Regions from separate parts of the Homo sapiens genome. Here region 1 is linked to region 2. Evidence: promoter capture Hi-C in human tissues and cell types (Jung and others, 2019). All regions are on one chromosome and are shown on one strand. Each heading gives the region's core, a stretch centred on a gene start or on the middle of the fragment in contact. The rest is flanking DNA. Distances are from core to core; before and after follow the strand shown. Region 1 overlaps RNF217 (ring finger protein 217). Region 2 holds the start of RNF217 (ring finger protein 217).

Region 1 (5,196 bases), core at 2,553-5,052, 63 kb after region 2:
GATCTTGGCTCACTGCAACCTGTACCTCCCGGATTCAAGCAATTCTCTGCCTCAGCCTCCCAAGTAGCTGGGATTACAGGTGCCTGCCACCATGCCCGACTAATTTTTTGTATTTTTAGTAGAGACGGGGTTTCACCATCTTGGCCAGGCTGGTCTTGAACTCCTGACCTCGTGATCTACCCACCTCGGCCTCCCAAAGTGCTGGGATTACAGGCGTGAGCCACTGCACCCGGCCAGAAAATGCTTACCTTATGTTACATGGAAAAGCAAGTTACCAAGTTGAATTCAGAGTACATGTAGAATAAATATATTCTACAAGGACTTATATGAAAATGTTGATATTGGTAGTATTAGGATGGTAAGACAAAGCCTGATTTTTTCCCCATTTTTCTGTTTTCCCAGTTTCCTTTATAAAGTCATTTATCAGCTGTACAAACACAGGTGACCTTACTTTCCCTGTATAACTGAAAAATTGACTAGGAAGATCAGACATTGTGCTCTTCAATAAGTAAGAACAGCCATTCCCAGGATTGTCATTAAACACTTTCCCATGCCTTCCCCCCTTTTTTTGAGATGGAGTCTCACTCTGTCACCCAGGCTGGAGTGCACTGGCATGATCTCAGCTCACTGCAACTTCTGCCTCCCAGGTTCAAGCCATTCTCCTGCCTCAGCCTCCCAAGTAGCTGGGATCACAAGCATGCACCACCACACCTGGCTAATTTGTGTTATTTTTAGTAGAGATGGGGTTTCACCATGTTGGCCAGGCTGCTCTCGAACTCCTTACCTTAGGTGACCACCTACCTTGGCCTCCCAAAGTGCTGGGATTACAGGCCTGCACCACCATGCCTGGCCTGTTTTCTTACTGGTTCTAACAAGTGAGGCCCACAGCAGATCTATTTGGTTTATAGGAGAAAATACATTTCTATTCTCCCTCAAAACATGAAGAGATTATTCAACAGTTATGTAAAATTTATATAGCTCCATTATATACAGTACGAATTCAGTGAAATTATAGGCAGTAACAGTTTTGAAAATTAACACATTAACAAAAATAAGTAACAATTAATGTTCTTTCACCTGAGCAGCCTAGGAAACTCTGGGGAAGTTGGACTAGGAAGGATGAGCAGGCTGACAGGGCCAGAAAGGTTTTCCTTCTCTACATCTCTGCCCTTTTTCTTTCAATTAGCACATTGAGTGCAACAGCTGAACTGCAACCAGCCAGGGGTGTGGTTGTTCCTTTAAGGGAGGCTGGGCTTCTGGCCTACATGTGGCCTCTGCCCTGGTAGTTAAGACTGAACATTTTTATCTTCTTATAAACCAGTGATCAAGGCCAATTTGGCTGTCATCTCTCCCTACCCCATGAACCCCTTAAAATAGTCCAGAACAGGATGCTGATTTTTCTACTTACAATTACACATTACACGCTAGACAAAACAAACATACACAATCACACTTCCTTCCCTTTAATTTATGTCCCTTGGACTAGTGGTCTGGTGCTCTCCTTTGTCACCTATGTCCCTGCTTGACCTTGAGTTTTCTGTAGCTAGAGATCACTATTTAGAAAAACCTCACACTATCTCTATTAACCTCTTTTTGAATTTCAACAATTATTTCTTAAGCACCTACTTTATGTCAGGTTAGTGAGCAAGGTATTAGAGATGCCAGAATAAACAAGGCACAGTTTCTGCCCTCAAAGAATTTATAGGATAATAGGGAAAACAAACAATTTTGCTAGAATAGGATAAGTAAAAATGACAGGAATAAGCACAGGTTGCTACAGGAGCAAGTCTTGTTAAGGATCACCTGATACAGTTTTGAGGTATTACAAAAGGCTTCCAAAAGAATTTGATGTCTGAGGTAAGACCTGAAGGATTTAAGCAAGAAAAATATGTGTAAAGTATGTCCTGGGTAGAACAAAAGCATGCGGAGGAGCCCAGAGGCAAAATCAAATATGATTGAGGCATAGCCTGCAATGGGGCAAAAGGGAGTCCAGAAAAGTGGTCACATTTTCACATGGAGGGAGTTTTCACTTTATCCTGAACACAAGGGCATTATTGAAGTATTTTAATTAGTGGAGTTGTATGATCAGACTTGTGTTGTAAAAAGAGTGCTCCAGAGAAGAGGGCACCCTTGTATACTGTTGGTGGGAATGTAAAGTAGTACAGCCATTACAGAAGACAGTATGGAGGATCCTCAAAAAACTTAAAATAGAACTGCCAGATGATCCAGAATCTCACTATTGCATCTATATCTCAAGGAAATGAAATTAGTATGTTGAAGAGATATCTGTACTCCCATGCTCATTGTGCCCTGTTCACAATAGCCAAGATATGGAAACCACCTAAGTGCCCATTGATAGATGAGTGGATAAAGAATATCTAGTATATTTAACAATGGGATGTTAATCAGTCTTTAGAAAGAAGGAAATACTGTCATTTGCAGCAATATGGATGAACCTGGAGGACATTACGTTGAGTAGGATAGACCAGGCACAGAAAGACAAATGCCACATGGTCCCCCTTTATATATGGAATCTTAAAAAGTCAAACTCATAGAAGCAGAAAGCAGAATGTTGGTTACCAGGGGATGGGCATGGGGGGAAAAGGACTAAGGAGATGTTGTTCAAGACATGCAAAATTTCTGTTAGGAGGAATAAGTTCAAGCAACCTATTGTACAGTATGGTGACTATAGTTAGTAACAATGCATTGTATACTTGAAAATTGCCAAGAGAGTAGATTTTAAGTACTTTCACTGCAAATAAATAAATATGTGAGGTAAACAAAATGAAACAAAGAGTACTCCAAAGCCTGGACTAAGTAGCATTGGAGATCAAAAGATGTAAATGATTGTTTGAAGAATTAATAAAGTAGGATTTTGTTGATGGTTGAGGGAGAGAGGAAGCAGAAGAAAAGTCGGGAGGGGATATTACTTTGCTTTCTGTGCCATTTTCATGATAAGGAACATGAAGGAGGCCAGGCACGGTGGCTCACGCCTGTAATCCCAGCACTTTGGGAGGCTGAGGCAGGCGGATCACCTGAGCTCAGGAGTTCGAGACCACCCTGAGCAACACGGTAAAATCCCATCTCCACTAAAATACCAAAAATTAGCCAGGCATGGTGGTGCACGCCTGTAATCCCAGCACTTTGGGAGGCTGAGGCAGGCGGATCACCTGAGCTCAGGAGTTCGAGACCACCCTGAGCAACACAGTAAAATCCTGTCTCCACTAAAATACCAAAAATTAGCCAGACATAGCGGTGCATGCCTGTAATCCCAGCTACTCGGGAGGCTGAGGCACGAGAGAATCTCTTGAGCCCGGGAGGCAGAGGTCGCAGTGAGCCAAGATCATGCCACTGCACTCCAGCCTGGGTGACAGGGTAAGACTCTGTCTCAAAAAAAAAAAAAAAAAAAAATGAAAGTGGGCAGTCAGGGGGACATGGGAAGTGATGAGTTTGTTTTTAGACTGTTGAGTTTGAGGTATTTGACTGAAGACATCAAGTAGGGAATTAAACGTAGATATCAGAAGCTTAGTATAGAGATCTGGACTGGTGTTTTAACATGTGGGAGCTTGCACTGTATATATATGTGGAGTTGAAACCATGGGAGTGGAAGAGTAACTAACCCTCAGAAAGATTAACCAATGAGAACAATCCATTATAAATGCAACCTCAGAGACTCAGGAAGCCTTAAAGGATAGATGCAGGGAAAATCCACAAAGGAGGATACAGGGGACAGAAAGAAGTCAGGAAAATCAGGAATGTGATGTGCTAGAGGTCAAGAAAGAAACAGAACTCAACAGTGTCAGATGTTGCAAAGGAGGCAGTAAAGTAAGGATTCAAATGGACATTTAGTAACCAGAAGGTGATTGATAATTTTGTAGAGAATGACTGAAAGTCATTTCAAGGAGGAGGTGAGACAGATAGCAGTGGGTTTTTTAATGTGGACGTGAACACAAGAACATTAAATAATCTTTCATTTGGCTTGGCTGCAAATGGACAGATGATAAGGACTGGAGACCAAGGCACACAATCCTAACGAGTTTTTTGTTTTCTTTTGCTTTTATAGTGGGAGAAACTTGAGCATGCTTATCAGTTTGAGTGTCTGAAGTTAGCAGAGGGAGGTGAGATTCCTGACAAGGCAGGTGGAAATAATCATCCTAGAAATTTTGCAAAGTCCTGCTTTCTACCGAGGAGGGAGGGAGGAAGGGATATTTCCAAAGGAAGGAAGGAAGGAAGGAAGAAAAGAAGGAAGGGAGGGAGGGAGGGAGGGATATTTCCAAATGTACTCCCTTATGAGTGGGGAACAGAAAGTTGAAGGTGTTCTAAGGAAGGGAGGGAGTGAGGAAAGAAGGGAGGGATATTTCCAAATGTACTCCCTTATGAGTGGGGAACAGAAAGTTGAAGGTGTTCTAGGGAGGGAGGAAGGGAAGGAGGGAGGGAGGGAGGGAGGGAAGGAAGGAAGGAAGGAAGGGATATTTACAAATGTACTCTCTTATGAGTGGGGAACAGAAAGTTGAAGGTGTTCTCAGCTGATCCTGTTGGATTTTTATTCTGTCAAGTACAAGGTGAAGTTTTTGACTGTGTGCATATTGGTCAGTTGAAAGGAAAAGTTAAGAGTAAGGCCTTGAAGAGGGAGGTGAAATGGTTCATGGGTAAGAAAGAAGCACCCCAGAGGGTCCCAGAGAAGGTTGCTGCTCAGTGATGATAGCCCATATGATCGTGGAGACCATCTGCTTGTCCACAGCACTGAGGGAGATGAAAGTTAGACTGCTTGTACTTTTCAAAGTATCACATCCAAAAATGTATTACCTGCCTTTGATGAAGTACTTAAGAATTCTCAGTGGCCGCTAGCAACATGGCATTATTATTCTAAGCAGCCAGTTTTGCAAAACCTGGGTAGACATCTGCAGTGACACAGTGGCAATGTGTCCAGGCTCTGCCAGTGACTAACATTGAATTAAAGCTTTAGTACTTTCTTTCTGGGTGACCTTGGGCAAACTAATTCTGTACTTGGGATCCTGGTAGGGTCTTTATCAGGAGTAACTGAGGTTAATCAATGGAAAATGCTTAGAATAGTGCCTGGCACATACTAAACGCTCAACAAATGTTAGCTGCTGCTATCATCATCATCGTCATCATTATCATTAAGTTTATTGTGATAATAGGATAAATTTCTAGGATGATACAATTCAAGCCTTT
Region 2 (5,356 bases), core at 364-2,863:
AATAAGCACTTAAAGTATCATTTGGAGAAAACAGCAGTTACCAGGAAATCACTTAGCTGAGATAAAAAAGAAAAGAATCCTCGAATAGCATTTAATCTTCAAAATAAGAATTTTCCATTCTTGGGTCAGACCGATAGATGACATGGCATTTAGACATCCAATTCATACCTTTGCTTGCAACTGAGCCTCAGACACACATATATGATGGAAATGTTCTTTGGCATTACACTGCTTTCTTAGTTTGCATCGCTAGTCACCTTTGTATCATTTGCATCTGATTTGGAAAATATTTTAGAACAACCCAATAACAACTTCGAGATTAAAAAATAAAATTCTACACACTTTACAGTTCCTTGCTATTACATGAATGTGTAAATTGAATTCCCTCTCAGGAGAAAAAAAACAAAACAAGGGCTGGCTTCCCAAAAATGTTTTCACTGGCTTTAGGGAACTAAAACACCAGTGTCTGGGTGAGTAATACTTCCTGTAAAATAAAGATAGATCAACACATAATTAAGTCCTGGCTCACATATAATTGTTGTTTTGGAAACAGTTTTGAGGATAAATATGGTTATGCTAATGAAACTGCCCATGATTTCCACTAATGATCCAGTTTATTAATTAGGTCAGGACATTTTTCCACCTTGTGCTATCCATTTTGGAATGCTGAAAAGGGTTAAAAAAAAAAACTTCTAAGAGAACACTGTAGGCGAAGAAAAAGAGAGAAATTTTAAATTAGTTATCAACTCTTCTAAGGATTCCAGTTGGAGGAGTAGATCGAAAGTGCTTTTTCGATTATTTATGGGTTTCGAAGATTCTTCCTACTCCACTAGGCAGAAAAACAGAGTTGTAATATACAGCATTTAGAATTCATAATCCTTAGCATTATTTCTCTGAACTCGACATCCTAAATAGCCAGCGTTTACTAATTCCAGAGCTGAGTGTAGTTTTGTAGGAAGTTCTACTGAATGCGGAGACCAAAGGGGAGCCTGCCTGCTCTGAGGGTTTTGTTGAGGCTGAGTGTGAACTCCGGGCGAGAAAGCGCATCTCAGCTCTTAGATCACACCCACTCAGGGTGTGCGTGTGTGTGTGCGCGGGTGCCTGCGCGCGTGTGTACGTGTGGGGAGGTGTGCGCCAAAGGGGTGGGGTGAGGGGCGGCGAGGAGGGCTGTAGGTGAAGCGCGGGGAGAGGGAGGTCGCCCGCTCCGGCCTCTCCCCCAGGGGCCCTGCGGCTGGCCAGCGCTCCGGCTGCACCTCCTGGTGCGCGCCGCGGCGGCGCCACAGGCCCCTCGACCCTTTGACCACCGCCCTCGGGCCGCGCGTCCGGCAGCCGGGACCGGTGATGGCGCGGGACTGACGGCCGTCTCCTCCCAGACCCCTCTGTCCCGCCTGGGGCTCGCTGGGGCTGCGGCGCCGCCCCGAGCTGCATGTGGGGCGGGCGCGCCCGAGCCCAGAGCGAGCGGCCCTCGGCGCCCCCGAGGCGGTGCCCCGCCGCGCCAGAGTACGAGGAGGAGCGGCGGGCCGGGCCAGGCTCCCCACGCGCCGCAGCCTCGGAGCACGGGCTCCCCGGAGGGGACTTGGGGCGTCCCAGCCCAGGAGGAAGGACCCGGAAGCAGAAGCGGAGCCGCGAGTCGAGCCGAGCCACTGCCCCCGCTGCCCGCGGGCGCCGGGTGGGGGTCCCGGCGGCTGGATGGGCAGCGGCGGCGCGGGCCGCGGGCGGCGATGGGCGAGGAGCAGAGCACGGTGAGCGGCGGCGGCGGGCCCCAGGAGTCGCAGACCCTGGCCAGTGGCACTGCGGGCCACCCTGAGCCCCCGAGGCCTCAGGGGGACAGCGCCCGGGCGCCCCCGCTGCGCGCCGCCTCCGCGGAGCCGAGCGGCGGTGGCTGCGGAAGCGACTGGGGCTGCGCGGACACCAGCGCCCCAGAGCCCGCGAGGAGCCTGGGGCCCCCGGGCTGGAGTAAGAGCCGAGCACCGGCGCAGCCTGCGGGACTGGCACTCACCGGGCCTCTCAATCCCCAGACCTTGCCACTGCAGTTGGAGCTGGAGGAGGAAGAGGAGGAAGCTGGGGATCGAAAAGAGGGAGGGGATGAACAGCAGGAGGCGCCCCCCGGCGAAGAGCTGGAGCCCAGGACCCGCGTGGGGGCCGCCGACGGACTGGTCCTGGACGTGCTGGGTCAGCGGCGCCCGTCCCTCGCCAAGAGACAAGTCTTCTGCTCCGTGTACTGCGTGGAGAGCGACCTGCCCGAGGCCCCCGCCTCGGAGCAGCTCTCGCCGCCCGCGTCGCCACCTGGGGCTCCGCCAGTGTTGAACCCTCCCAGCACCCGCTCTTCCTTCCCCAGCCCCCGACTGTCCCTCCCAACGGATTCCCTCTCCCCCGACGGCGGCAGCATCGAGCTGGAGTTCTACCTGGCGCCCGAGCCGTTCTCCATGCCCAGCCTGTTGGGAGCTCCACCCTACTCTGGCCTGGGCGGTGTAGGGGATCCCTATGTGCCCCTCATGGTGCTGATGTGCCGGGTGTGCCTGGAAGACAAGCCCATCAAGCCCCTGCCTTGCTGCAAGAAGGCCGTGTGCGAGGAGTGCCTCAAAGTCTACCTGAGCGCCCAGGTAACTTCACCCCCTTCTCTTCCCCATTTATCATTCCAAATCACTGGCGAGGAGGTCCTGCTCTCGATCTGATCTCCCTGCTCGCGCGAAGAGGTGACCGACACACTTACTGAGGATCTCTGTTAGTTTCTCACGTCTCAGTTGTTATTTAAGTGTATTATGACCTCACTGGTTTACTTAACTGGAATTTAACTTTGCTGTGAACTTCAGGCTATGGTTGGCATGTGTAGAAGGCACAAGATACAAGTTGTTGCCCTCCTCTTATTTCTTATACAGGATTGCAAGCACAAGCTTGCTCAAAGGAGGAGAGGAAGAGACTGCCTCATCGGCCTGGTATCCCAGAAACTAACAAGCAGTGGGCATAGAATAAATATTTATGGAGCTGGTGGAGAAAAGAATTGGAATAAATATTTCAGACCCATAATACATGAATTTGTAATTTTGCTTCATTTGTATATTCCAGGAAAGAGTGAATGTTTAAAAAAATGTATCCCTTGGCCTTTGCCTACTTTTCAGTTTCCTTTTTCCACAGTAAAGTTGAAGTACTTTTCTTTCACTGAGGTTTTAAGCCAGCACTCTTTAAGAGGGAAGCAAAACAGAAAGAGCAAAACAAAGCAAAGAGAGGCTAAGAGGTTTCTCAGAACAAGCACTGGTGAAACTTTCCTCCTCTGCTTTTATTTGAAAACTTGGTTTTTTTTCTTGGAAAGCTTGAGAGTGCACCAGACCAGCTTTCCTTCACTGACGGTGAATGCGTTCTTCCAGCAGTTTTCAATCTGTGATGTTTCTGCCAGTGTTTTGCACAATCCTGGATGCCCTTTGATCCTGTGTCCAATTGTCCTAGGCCTATTCATCTTTCAAAACCCTGTGTGTTCAGGTGCCAACTCTTCTGTGAAGCGTTGCCTCACCCTCCAAGTCACTGCTTATATACTTTCACAGTATCTTATATTATCTTACATGCACTGAAGTTGTTTCTTTCGTGTCTGCTTGTCTTGTTAGACTGTCTGGACAATGTCTTAGAGTCCCATATGTGGTAGCTTCATGTTGAGTCCCTTGCCCATCATAGTGTTTTTAATAACATTGGCTGGGACAAACTGAACAGGGCTCCGTACCATGTGATTCCTCTATGTTTTTTGGCTAACTCATGCTTGGGTCTAGACTGAAAGTGTGTACAGTCCCTAACTAAAAATGCAAACAAAGACTTAAAACGGTATGTTACATAAACAGTAAGTTGGCTAAAATAGTTGGGATTATTTAAAAGCCTCTGAGAGACTGTTGTTTCTTTCATGCTTTATCTACAGAGATTCTTAAAACAGGAGGAATGTCTGCTGCTGGTTGTGGTAGTTTCTGTATCATCATCCTCAAAACAGATTTCGCTGCCCTGCGATGGGATTCAGACATTTCCAAAATATAAGCCCGCCTCCAGGGAAGTCACTGTGAGAGCAGATGTGTACAAAAGAACAATACAAGGTAGCATGGGATGAGATGTCAATAGAGTAACAATTCCAGATAGCACTTCCTGTTAAATGCTGGATACACATTCCAGAAATTCAAGGGAGGTAGTCATTGTGGCTTGGGGTACTTTACCTAGCAGTTTGATTTCCTTATGGTGGGCCCTTTCCCCAAAGCAGTTTTCTTTTTCTTTATTAAACCTCATAAGTTAGTTTTAGGAAGTTTTAGTAATGGTAGTAGGGAGACAGAGGGACATAGTCAAGTGGTCATTGCAGTGTACAGTACAACCACTAAAAACTCCTCTGCAGTGACACAGTATCTGAAGCTTGTCTGCAGCATTTCTGATTGTATGTATGTGCCTGACCTTCTTCCAAAGTATTTGCTGGGACTTTCAATAAATAATAATACACATTATTGGCCGGGTGCGGTGGCTCACGCCTGTAATCCCAGCACTTTGGGAGGCTGAGGCAGGTGGATCACCTGAGATCGGGAGTTCAAGACCAGCCTGACCAACATGGTGAAACCCCGTCTCTACTAAAAATACAAAATTAGCTGGGCATGGTGGCGCATGCCTGTAATCCCAGCTACTTGGAAGGCTGAGGCAGAAGAATCACTTGAACCCAGGAGGCAGAGGTTGCAGTGAGCCAAGATCACATGATTGCACTCCAGCCTGGGCAACAGAGTGAGACTCCTCTCAAAAAAAAAGAAGAATATACATTATTTAAAATAATAAACAGCAACAAAAAGATGAGTCATAGATACCGGGCATGCTTTCACCTCAGGGCTTTTGTACTTGGTTTTCCCTGTTCCAGGAAGGTTCCCTCCATGGCCCTCTTATCTGCTCACTGCACTCCTTTTCAGGGCTATATTCAAATGTCATGCCCTGTGACTTTCACTGACCACCCTTTTAAAAATTGAGCCTCACCCCACGCTCTCTCTCTTTTTTCCTGCTTTTTATTTTCTCCATAGCACTAACATACTCTGTCTTACACTTAAGTAATTAAGTCAAGACAGAAGTTTTCACATTATTTGTACAGGTCTGTATCTTTAGCATCTACAGCGTTGTCTGGTATATAACAGATGGGCAACTAAAACCTACTGAATTTTTGAAAGGCCTGAGATTGCCCCAGAAACCAAGGCTAGGAAGTGGTGTTCTGCATTGGCACTAAATTCTATTCTGAGCTTCTTGATACTTAAGACAAAAGACAAAGGGCTTAAAGCGGACAAAAGTAACAGGTTTGCTAAGTTGGTTATTAAACTTAGAATTTAAGAGCTTAGATAAACTTTGAGCTTATACATAAAAT

What was found. Contacts are between HindIII fragments. The study calls those that stand out against the background at their distance.
Region 1: a contact is called between a fragment that was not itself captured here and the fragment with the promoter of RNF217 in region 2, in 2 of the 25 tissues and cell types used here (mesenchymal stem cells and mesendoderm cells).

The regions. Positions count from the first base shown.
Region 1 is chr6:125,021,330-125,026,525 of GRCh38, forward strand. All of the region lies in intron 1 of RNF217 (ring finger protein 217), which reads left to right. Among named protein-coding and RNA genes, the nearest start is that of RNF217-AS1, 61 kb to the left of the region's middle. The HindIII fragment of the contact is 4,143 bases long and covers 1,732-5,196 here.
Region 2 is chr6:124,960,824-124,966,179 of GRCh38, forward strand. RNF217 (ring finger protein 217) reads left to right here and starts at 1,614. Exons shown (of 6, transcript NM_001286398.3): 1 at 1,614-2,603. The coding sequence starts at 1,722. It overlaps RNF217-AS1 (RNF217 antisense RNA 1), which reads right to left and starts at 2,204. Exons shown (of 7, transcript NR_026876.1): 1 at 2,000-2,204. The HindIII fragment of the contact is 7,226 bases long and covers 1-3,102 here.